Linked DNA regions of Homo sapiens: region 2 is linked to region 1. Evidence: promoter capture Hi-C in human tissues and cell types (Jung and others, 2019). All regions are on one chromosome and are shown on one strand. The core of a region is centred on a gene start or on the middle of the fragment in contact, and the rest is flanking DNA. Distances in the headings are between cores, read along the strand shown. Region 1 holds the start of FCHSD1 (FCH and double SH3 domains 1). Region 2 has its middle 13 kb from the start of DELE1.

Region 1 (5,288 bases), core at 2,683-5,182:
TCCCTCAAGTGCTCTGACAGCTCACTGACCAGGGCCTAGAGAGAACCCCAAGATACTGACACCACCCTTCCCCCAGACCTCTACTGTAAAATAGGCTCGTTCCAGATTTGACAGGTGATGGGCATGAGGTATAGGAAGGAGAGAAGAAGACATTCTTCATGAGAAAGGCCCTCGTGTGCAGAGCACTTAGAAGTTTAAAACACGTTCACATCCATTCTCTCCTTTGAGCCCCACTAGTGCTATAAGATAGGCAGAGAAAGGGTTATCCCTGATGAGGAATCTGGGGTTCGGAAGAGTTTAAGTGTACTGTACAATGCCATGCAGCCAGCTAGGAGCAGAACCAGAGTGCATGTATGTATCATCTACTCACTCTAAACAGACAAGATCCCCTGCACCACCCACTGTCATGGGGATCAAGAAGCAGGGGGAGGTCCTCCTTTCCCTCCCTGCTGAGGGATAGGGGTGTCTGGGTTAAAACTGGCCTTGAGCAGAGCTGGCAGTTCCTCCTGGTAGTAATGGTCGAGGTGGGCATTGGTAGCCACCAAGTTAAGCAGGTACTCATTGCGGGCTGCTTGCAGCTGCTGGGAGTACTGGGCTGACTGGGCGGACAGCTAGGAGGGTAAACTGATGTCAATAGGAAGCCCTAGACCCCCAGAGTCCTTCCAAGACCAATTGAGAAGCCAGATCCAGAATGGATTCTCACATTATTGAGTGCTTACTATGTGCCTGGCACTACACTAAAAATGTTGCATACACACAACTCCTGCTCAAAATCTTCTAGTGCCTTCTGCACGCATTTAAAATAAAATCCACTGTTCCTTACCATGGTCCACCACGTTCAATATGAGCTGGCCCCCGCAATCTCTCTGACCTCTTTTCAAGCGCTTGTTCCCTTGCTCACAGTACTCCAGCCATACTGGCCCTCTCTCAGTTCCTCGAGCCTACAAAGTTATTCCCACCTCAGACCCTTTGCACTCACCATTTCTTCTCTCTGCAATGTTCTTCCCCTAGATCTTTGCAAGGCCAGCTCCTTCTTGACAGTTAGGCCACCTATTCAGAGAGGCCTCCCTCTAAATTCTACCCCCTTGTTATTCTTTATCATAGTACCTTGTTTTATTTTCATCTTAATCTAAGTATTTATTTGCTGTCTGTCTCTCTTAACCAGACTGTGAGGGCAGGAACTCCATTGGTAGTGTTCTCCACTGTATCCATAATGTCTAGAACAGTGCCTATTATATACAGATCCTCAATAAATGCATATTAAAGGACTGAAAAAGAAGGGTATTCTCTCCATTTTATAGAAGAAAATAAGGCTCACAGAGATCAAGTAAATTAACCAAGGTTACCCACCCAGGAAGTAGGAGAGCCTGGATTCAACCCAGTCTTTCATACATATGCACCTATGTTCCAAACCACTAGACTACTCTGCCTCCCTCTTCCCTGCCCCCACTCATGCCCTCATCCCTCGAACCTTGGTGCTCAGTTTCTGGAGACTGGTCCGAGAGTGGAAGATCCCATGGTCACTTCGGTTTAGCCTGTGCAGATGAGAGAAAGGAGTCAGGCCCACCCCAAGTGGGAGAATATGAGATCAGAGTCAGGCCCAGCTTTGGTGACTTGGCTCCACCCCTAGACAGCCCCACCTCCCTGTTCCCCAACCTTGGGCTTCCTCACTCTCCATGACCCCACCTGGCCTGGACATCAGCCGCCTTCTCCTGTGCCAAGGCCCACACACGTTCCCGCTGCCCATACAGCTTCCGACTTCGGCTCAGCTCCCGGACAGACTGCAGCACCTCAGCCTGCGCCCTCTGGAGGTTCTCTGTTCCCTATTGGGATGCATACACAAAGTCCTTACCTAGACCACCTTTGGTCCCAAGCCAGCTCTTCCTTCACCCCAACCTCTGAGCCATACCTTCCTAAGCACCTGCTCCTTGGCGCTCCGCCCTGTACCCCCTGCTAGGTCACGGTATCGGTCAGACGCCTGGAGTCGGGTTTGGCCCCCAGCCACGGTGGCATCCAGCAGGCAGCGCCAGGCACCGAACACTGTCCTGCCCCTCCCCAGAGAAGGTCTGTGTTGAGGAGGAGAGCACTCCACAGCTTCATGAGACCACCCCCACCCCCTGCCCCCTGACCAACACCATGGGAGACAGAGTGCTTTCCCATCCTCCCTTGTCTGGGAGCCCATCAATCGATCAGCCCATTAGCTCAGCCACAAGCCTCACTCCTGCCCTCCACCCCACCCACAGTGTCCTTGCTGGGTCAGCTCCTCTGCTGCTGCTGTGTCAGCTCTACCTACAGCTCACGTGCCTTCCCCACTTGCTAGGCCTTCATCCCCACAGGTTCCTGGGGCTGAGCTCCCCATCACTTTTTGGCCTCTGTGGCCCTCCCCCTCCATAGGGCCCACCTGCTGTCCATCTCACCGCTCCGGTGCCCTTCCCTCTTCAGGAATGGGCCAGCCAGTTTCTGGAGTGCCTGGTGAAAAAGCCATCACAGAACCAAGTTCCCTTTCAAAGACCCACCCCAACTGGCAGAATATGACATCAGAGTATAATCATACCATTCTTTGGGTACATTATGTGCCACTTGCTTTGCTAAATGCCTTATAGTCATTAATTTGTTTAATCCTTACAACAACCCTACATGAAGGTAAGGTATTATTATTATTCCCATTTCACAGAGAAAGAAACTGAGGTCAAGAAAGGTTAAGTAACTTGTCCAAGGTCACATGGCTATAATTACACAGCAGGGATCTGACACCAGTCTGCTTGACTCTAGGCATCTGCTCTTGACCACAATAGGGATAGGTATGGACAGACATTACTGGTGATATAAGAGAGGCTGGAACAAGAGGTAAGGTCCAGAGAAAAGTCCCATACCTGCCCATACTCCCGTTCAATGGCTGCCCTCTGCTTGCTGTAGGATCTGCGGAGATTGCAGGTCGGGGGTGAGGTGGGGGATAAGGTTATGTTTGGTCCTGTTCTCCCATCCTCAGTCCTCTACTCTGGGCAGGAGGGAGCGGTTGGGGGGAGCCAGGTTCCTAGAGTGTAACTACACCCAGAGGGAATGGGACTGATGGGAGTCCTTGAGATCACCTCGGGCAGCTGCAACACAGGAAACCCTCACCTTACTGCCCCGGGCCCCAGCAGGATCCTCCCCACCCCAGAGGTTCATCTGTAGGCTTAGAGGTGAAGACTGATGGGGGCCTGGGTACGATGTCTGCCAGCCTTCCAACAGGTCTGGAAGAGGGAGAGGGATTCTGCCCTAAGGTTGATTGTGGGGTTGGGGGCAGTGGTGTGGAGTCAAGGGCTTTGAGGGAGGGTTCCTGTGTGTTTATGTGGGTGGGAGGGGGTTGGGAGGGGTTAGGTGGGGGAGCATTCCTATCCAGTATCTGGAGAGGCCAGGCCTAGGGTGAGGGCTGTGGATGGGTCGGCTGGGGAGCTCTTGGCCCCTGTTCCTCCACCCCAGCACATGTATATTGGGGAGAAGTGGCGCACAACGACGAAGGTGAGTGTAAATGAAGGGGGTTGGGGGAGCTACCTGATGTCCTCCAGCAGATCCGCCTCCCTCTGCTGCCAGGTCTGAAGGATGCTCAGCTGTTCCAGGAAGCGAAGCTTCACCTCCTGGGCCGGCTTCACCTGTGGGGGCAAAGAGAGGATGAAGACCCCAGCGCAAGGACCTAAAAAACACTCCGCGCAGGGAGCGGTGAGGGGGCGGGGCCGGGGGGGTGCTGAGCTCTTTCCTCTGTTACTTCTGGTTTGGGGTCTGACCCCTTCCGACTTCCCGTCTCCTACCACAAGTCGGATGCCCCCTTAGCTCCCTCCGTTCCCCCAGCCCGCCAGGAGTCCCCATTCAGGGCCAAGCTCACTTTTCGGGGCGGCGGCTGCATCTCCGCTCCAGCAAGGCGGTCAGCCACTGGACTCCGGAACTGGAGGAAGCCCCGCCCACTATGGAGCCCCGCCCCAGGCCAGGTCAGGCCCCGCCCTCTGCCCGCCCACGACTTGTCCGGCGACGTCGCAGGGCGCGGAAGCGAGAGGGGGCCACCGAGAAACTAAACCTGTTACTGCTGCGAATACGCCGGCAGGGTCCGGGTGGCGGGGCGGGCGGGGCGGACGCAGCGTCCGCTGGGCGGTGGGAAGAACCCCAGGCATCTGAGTCAAGACGCCTAAGTTCTATTTGTAGTGTAACCACTGATTCAGCCTGTAATTATTGATAATTATTCATTTGCATATGTAGATCCCCAGTCCCCGAGCTAATGATGAGGAATGGAGAGGAATTCAGTGTGTGACCAGGGAAACTGAGTCACTGGGCACCTGAGCAAAGATGCATCTGACGAAGAGAGGGCTGGTCCCAGACCTTTTCCTAATTCCCGCTTAACTGGAAAAGCCAGCGTGAGCGGGGTGAGAAAGATGCCTGGATCCAGGAAGGAACCAGGCCCAAAGGGAAAAAGACTTGGCCCCACTGAAAACTAAACGATACCAGTGAGTCGGCGAGAGCTGGGAGATGCGCAGGAAGCCCCTGCCACCTTTAGGATCTTCCAGCCCTAGCACTGCTTCCTGAGGAGCCTCTCCCCAATTCCTCATCCTCCTCACCTAAGCTTCTTTGGCTCAGGCACCTGTCCCAGTACCCCTGACATGTCTCAAAACTCCAGATTCACATTCCAACTCCCCACTGACACCTCTGCTAGTATATCTAATAGGAACCTCAACTTTTAAAGCTTTTAAACCTCCTTCAACCTGATCCTCCCCCCGTAACGTTTTAAATGGCACCGCATTTCCTCCAGTCAGTTAAGTCAGAAACCCAGAGTCAATGTGCCTTCTCCTACCCCTACATTCTATCCATCAGTAAGTCCTACAGGTTCTATTTCAAACAACAATAAACAAACAAAAACCTCTTGATCCACTTCCCTCAATTTCCAAGACCACCATCCTAGTCCAAGCCCCCATTATTAGACTTCTGGTCTAATATCTGATCTCCTTGCTTCCACACTGCCCTCACCCCAACCCACTGTTCACACAGCACTCAGAGTGATCAACCTTTTTTTTCTTTTTTAAAGGGAAATAAGATCTCATAATTTACTTGCTTAAAATGCACTTGCTTCAGAATAAAATCCAAATAGAATCCATGGCCTTCAAGGCTACGCATGGAAGACCCTGCTGGTCTTTCTTACTTCAGCCTGTACTCTCCTCCCACTGTCTGCTCACTGTGCTCCAGCCTCTTTGCTGTTCCCTCAGTAGACCAAGTCCCTTCCAATGCAGAGTTCTTCATGCCTGCTTTCTTTCTCCAGAATCTCC
Region 2 (5,035 bases), core at 215-2,714, 260 kb after region 1:
TAAGGAAAAGAACAAGTATTGGCAAGAATGTGGGGACACTGAAACCCTTGGGCCTTCCTGATGGGAACATAAAATGGTACAGCCACTGTGGAAAACAGTTGGTGGTTCCTTAAAATGTTAAACATAGAATTGCCGTATGACCCAGCAGTTTCATTCGTAGGGGTATACCCAAGAGACTTGAAAGTAGGTACTCAAATACTTGTATATAAATATTCACAGTAGCAATATTCACAATAGCCAAAAGATGGAAACAACCCAAATATCCATCAATGGATGAATGGATAAACAAAATGTGGTATACCCACACAATAGAATATTATTTAGCAATAAAAATAAATGAAGTACTGATGTATGCTACAACATGGATGAACCTTGAAAACATTGTTAAGTGAAGGAAGCTAGACGCAAAAGATCATGTAGTGTATGATTTCATTTCTATGAAATATCTAGAAAAGGTCAATTCATACAGATAGAAAGAAGGCTAGTGGTTACCAGGGGATGGGGTGAAGGGAGAATGGGAGTGACTGCTTAATGAGTCAGGAGTTTCTTTGGGAGATGATCAAATGTTTTGGAACTAGATAGAGATGATGATTGTACAACATTGTGAATGTACTAAATGCCACTGAAGTGTATACTTTCAATGGCTAATTTTTTGTTACGTAGATTTTACCTACATTTTTTTAAAAAGCAAGTTCCTTAGGCTCCACATTCAGAGCTTTGGATTCAGCATATCTGGCATGATGCCCAGGACCTGAATTTTCAACAAGTACCTCAGATACCCCTGATGCAAGTGGTCCAGGGACCATATTTTGAGAAACATTGCTAAACAATGTTAAGCTTCGAATTGATTCTCTTCCATTCTCCTTTACTTTTTGTAACATACATCATAATTGTATGGCTTATCCTGCACCTCTTTTCCCATAGACTGTAAACTCCATGAGGGCAGGGCCCATATCTTCCTTCTTCATCATCATGATGCTAGCATTTGGAAAAAGCGCCTTGAGGCTGGGCATGGTGGCTCATGCCTGTAATCTCAGCACTTTGGGAGGCTGAGGTCTGGGCAACATGTCAAAAACCCATCTCTACAAAAAAATAAAAAATTAGCTGGGTGTGGTGGCGCATGTGCCTGTAGTCTCCGCTACCTGGGAGGCTGATGCAGGAGGATAGATTGAGTCTGGGAGGTTGAGGCTGCAGTGAGCTGGGATTGTGCCACTGCACTCCAGCCTGGATGAGAGCGAGACTCTGTCTCAAAAAAAAAAATAAAATAAAGAAAAGAAAAGAAAAAGCACCTTGACATTACACATGCCCAGTAGATACAGGGTGAATTTTTTTTTTTTTTTTTTTGAGACAGAATCTCGCTCTGTCACCCAGGCTGGAGTGCAGTGGTGTGATCTCGGCTCACTACAACCTCACCTCCAGGTTTAAGCGATTCTCCTAACTCAGCCTCCAGAGCAGCTGGGATTACAGGCGCGCTTCACCACGCCTGGCTAATTTCTTATATTTTTTGGTAGAGGTGGGATTTCACCATGTTGGCCAGGCTGGTCTTGAACTCCTGACCTTAGGTGATGCACCAGCCTCGGCCTCCCAAAGTGCTGGGATTACAGGCATGAGCCACCACGCCCGGCCTGATATACAGTGAACTGAATGACCGAACTGGATTAACTAGAAGGGATCAGAGTAGAAGGGAAAAATCTTAAGGAGCCTCTAGCCCAAGAATCCACAGTGTAAGTAGTGGGACCAGCGTTTAACCCCCCTTATCCCCATGGCTTCCATTGCACAACAAAATGTATCAGCCCACAGTGTGGAAACCAGGAAACTATGGTAGGGAAAGGAGGCCTGACTGGGCTCCCCTTGGGGAGGCACCTCTAGGAGCTCATGGCCAAGACTGAGCAAGCTTGAGACCCTGGGGCATGGCATCCAGAGGTGCACAGCTCTGTTGGCCTGGCCTGGCTGGAAGACTCTGGCCAGGTTTTCCTGGTCTCCCTGGCTGATCCCAGTGCCTTTTGGCTTGGTGACTGCTCTCACTCTTGGCTGCTTTCACGGTGCCTTAGGGCACACAGTCAGCAGAATAGCTTCCCTCAGCATCCCTGAGCTGGGTCTGGGCCATCCCACTGTCGCCTGTGCTGACTTCTGAGGCCTCATCAACACTGCAGGAAGCATGATGCACCCAAGAGGATGTAGGTGGGACATCCAGGGGATGGAGCCTCCTGCCTGGGCCTCTCATATGGAGCCAGCACAAATATAATTGTATCCTCACTGCTCTTACCTCTTCTCATCCAGGGGCAGGCTTCCTCTAGTCAAGCAATTTTCCTTTTCTCCTCTGTGTCTTCTCTGAAGGGAAGGGTGAAATTCTTCAAGTCTTCACTAAGTTTGTGACCATCAATTAACCCTAAATCAATCAATAATCACCACCCCTATACACACACACTTATATACACAAATATAGGAAGTCAGCCAGGCACAGTGGCTCACGCCTAAAATCCCAGCACTTTGGAAGGCTGAGGCGAGTGGATCATCTGAGGTCAGGAGTTCGAGACCAGCCTGGCCAACATGGTGAAATCCGTCTCCACTAAAAGTGAAAAAAAAAAATTAGCTGGGTGTGGTGGCACATGCCTGTAATCCCAGCTGCTCAGGAAGCTGAGGGAGGATAATCGTTTGAACCCGGGAGGCAGAGGTTGCAGTGAGCCGAGATCACACCACTGCACTCCAGCCTGGGCGAAAGAGCAAGACTCCTCAAAAAAACCATATATATGTGTGTGTGTGTGTGTGTGTGTGTGTGTGTGTGTGTGTGTGTATGTGTATATATGTATATATATGTGTGTATATATATATGTATATATATATTTGAAGTCAATGTCTTTCATAGAAAAAAGTAGGACCTTTTTAAAATCTTATCATTGGCTAATTATGTGGCCTTCTTCAAGGCCTCAAATCCTTCCCTCAACATGAACAGTTACTGCCAGCCAGGGGCAGAGGCATGTGCCTATAGTCCCAGCTACTGCAAAGGCTGAGGAGGGAGAATCTCTTGCGCCCTGGAGTTCGAGTCTGCAGTAAGCTATCATCATGCCACTGCACTCCAGCCTGGGCAACTAACTGAGACCTCCATCTGTAAAATAATTAAATAATTCAAAAAATAAAAAATAATAAATGAAAAAAGTTGTTTCCATTGAGTACCTACAATGCACCAGGCAGTTAAGCTTAGAGCCTCAAAAATGCATCACCTCATTCAGTTCCCACACAACCCTATAAGGTAAGTAACATTTTCTTTTTTCTTTTCTTTTTTTTTGAGACAGAGTTTCACTTTTGTCGCCCAGCAGGGAGTGCAACGGTGGATCTTGGCTCACTGCAACCTCCGCCTCCCGGGTTCAAGCTATTCTCCTGCCGCAGCCTCCCAGGTAGCTGGGATTATAGACGTGTGCCACCACCCACGGCAAATTTTTGTGTTTTTAGTTGAGACGGGGTTTCGCCATATTGGCCAGGCTGGTCTCGAACTCCTGACCTCAGATGATCCACCCTCCTTGGCCACCCAAACTGCTGGGATTACAGGTGTGAGCCACCACGCCTAGCCAGGTAAGTAACATCTTAAAAAGGTAATTGTGAAATATAACATATATACAGAAGATGTCTAAAACATGTATATGAATCTATAATATATTAATGTATATCTATTACATATGTATCTGTAAGAACATTCCCTTTCTTTCTTTATAGTTTTATTACCCATATATGCATTTCTAAATAATATAATTTAGTCTTGCCTATTTTTGAAATATAAGTGAATGGGATCATACTGTACATATTCTTTCGAGTTGTTTTTTTTTTAAACTTACTCTTATCTTCGTGAAAGGCTAGAAAATGTAGACCCTGACTGGACAGCCACATCCCAGCTGAATTCTAATACCATGGAAGAAGGAGAGAATGGATGTTGGTGGATAATTAGCCATTTTGCTACAATGTATTACTCACCCACTTCCCATTATTTCTGGAGTTATTTCTTTCCCGCTTACTTTGATTAATAATTTCCCCTTCTTTTCTATCTCACGGCAACCTCAATGATAAAATCATGGAACCAATGAGTAGGCTTTAGTTCAAGAAGGCAATAATTTCTTTCTAGGTGGTTTTGGGCAACGTGAGCAGAAATGCCCTTCTACACCATCAAATTTTTTTTTTCCTCTCTCTCTCTCTTTTTTTTTTTTTTTTTTTGAGATGGTGTCTCACTCTGTCACCCAGGCTGCAATGCAGTGGCACAATGTTGGTGCACTGGAACCTCCATCTCCCAGGTTCAAGCAATTCTCCTGCCTCAGCCTCCCAAGTAGCTGGGATTACAGGTGTGCACCACCACACTGGGCTAATTTTTTTTTATTTTTAGTAGAGGTGGGGTTTTACCATGTTGGCCAGGCTGGCCTCAAACTCCTGAGCTCAAGTGATCCGCCCACCTCAACCTCCCAAAGCGCTGGGATTACGGGTGTGAGCCACCACGCCCAGCCTCAAATTTTCTTGAATAAACATATTTTGAGGGCTTACCTCCCATAAGATACTAAGCACATGCAAAGGCATCCTGACTGCTTACCATGCATGGAAATTCCAGTAAAAGGGCATGCACAGTTGAAGGGTTAAGGGTATGTGCACCCACAGGGTAAGCTTAGAACCAACTTATAGAGTCTTAGATGTCCAGCCATATCCTGTCCTGCAAGGACAGTCCCATGTAGTACATGCAGAGAAGGGTGGACTGGATGTGAGATACATAGGGGGCTGTGGGCATAGGAGAGGTGGTGGGATAGGGTGAGGATCAGAAAGACCTAGGAGGTGTTTCCTAGCTCTGCTCTAGTTGGGCAAATCTCTTAATTACTCTCAGCCTCAGTTTCCTCATCGGTAAAATGTACGTATATCTGAGAAAGAGATAGTTATTATCCTCATTTTACAGATGACGAATCCCAGGCTCAGAGAAGTTATCTTGCTCAAGAATTCATTAGAGAAAGCAGAGTCAGGATTCAAGCCCAGGCAGTCTGACTCCAGAGCTGGAGTTCTTTATTGC

What was found. Contacts are between HindIII fragments. The study calls those that stand out against the background at their distance.
Region 2: a contact is called between a fragment that was not itself captured here and the fragment with the promoter of FCHSD1 in region 1, in 1 of the 25 tissues and cell types used here (dorsolateral prefrontal cortex).

The regions. Positions count from the first base shown.
Region 1 is chr5:141,647,486-141,652,773 of GRCh38, forward strand. FCHSD1 (FCH and double SH3 domains 1) reads right to left here and starts at 3,933. Exons shown (of 20, transcript NM_033449.3): 1 at 3,863-3,933; 2 at 3,535-3,632; 3 at 2,874-2,919; 4 at 2,402-2,469; 5 at 1,910-2,051; 6 at 1,687-1,823; 7 at 1,472-1,535; 8 at 483-611; 9 at 1-35. The coding sequence starts at 3,883. RefSeq lists an enhancer at 1,955-2,533. The HindIII fragment of the contact is 10,660 bases long and covers 1-5,288 here.
Region 2 is chr5:141,908,460-141,913,494 of GRCh38, forward strand. No RefSeq gene overlaps it. Among named protein-coding and RNA genes, the nearest start is that of DELE1, 13 kb to the right of the region's middle. The HindIII fragment of the contact is 4,910 bases long and covers 1-3,919 here.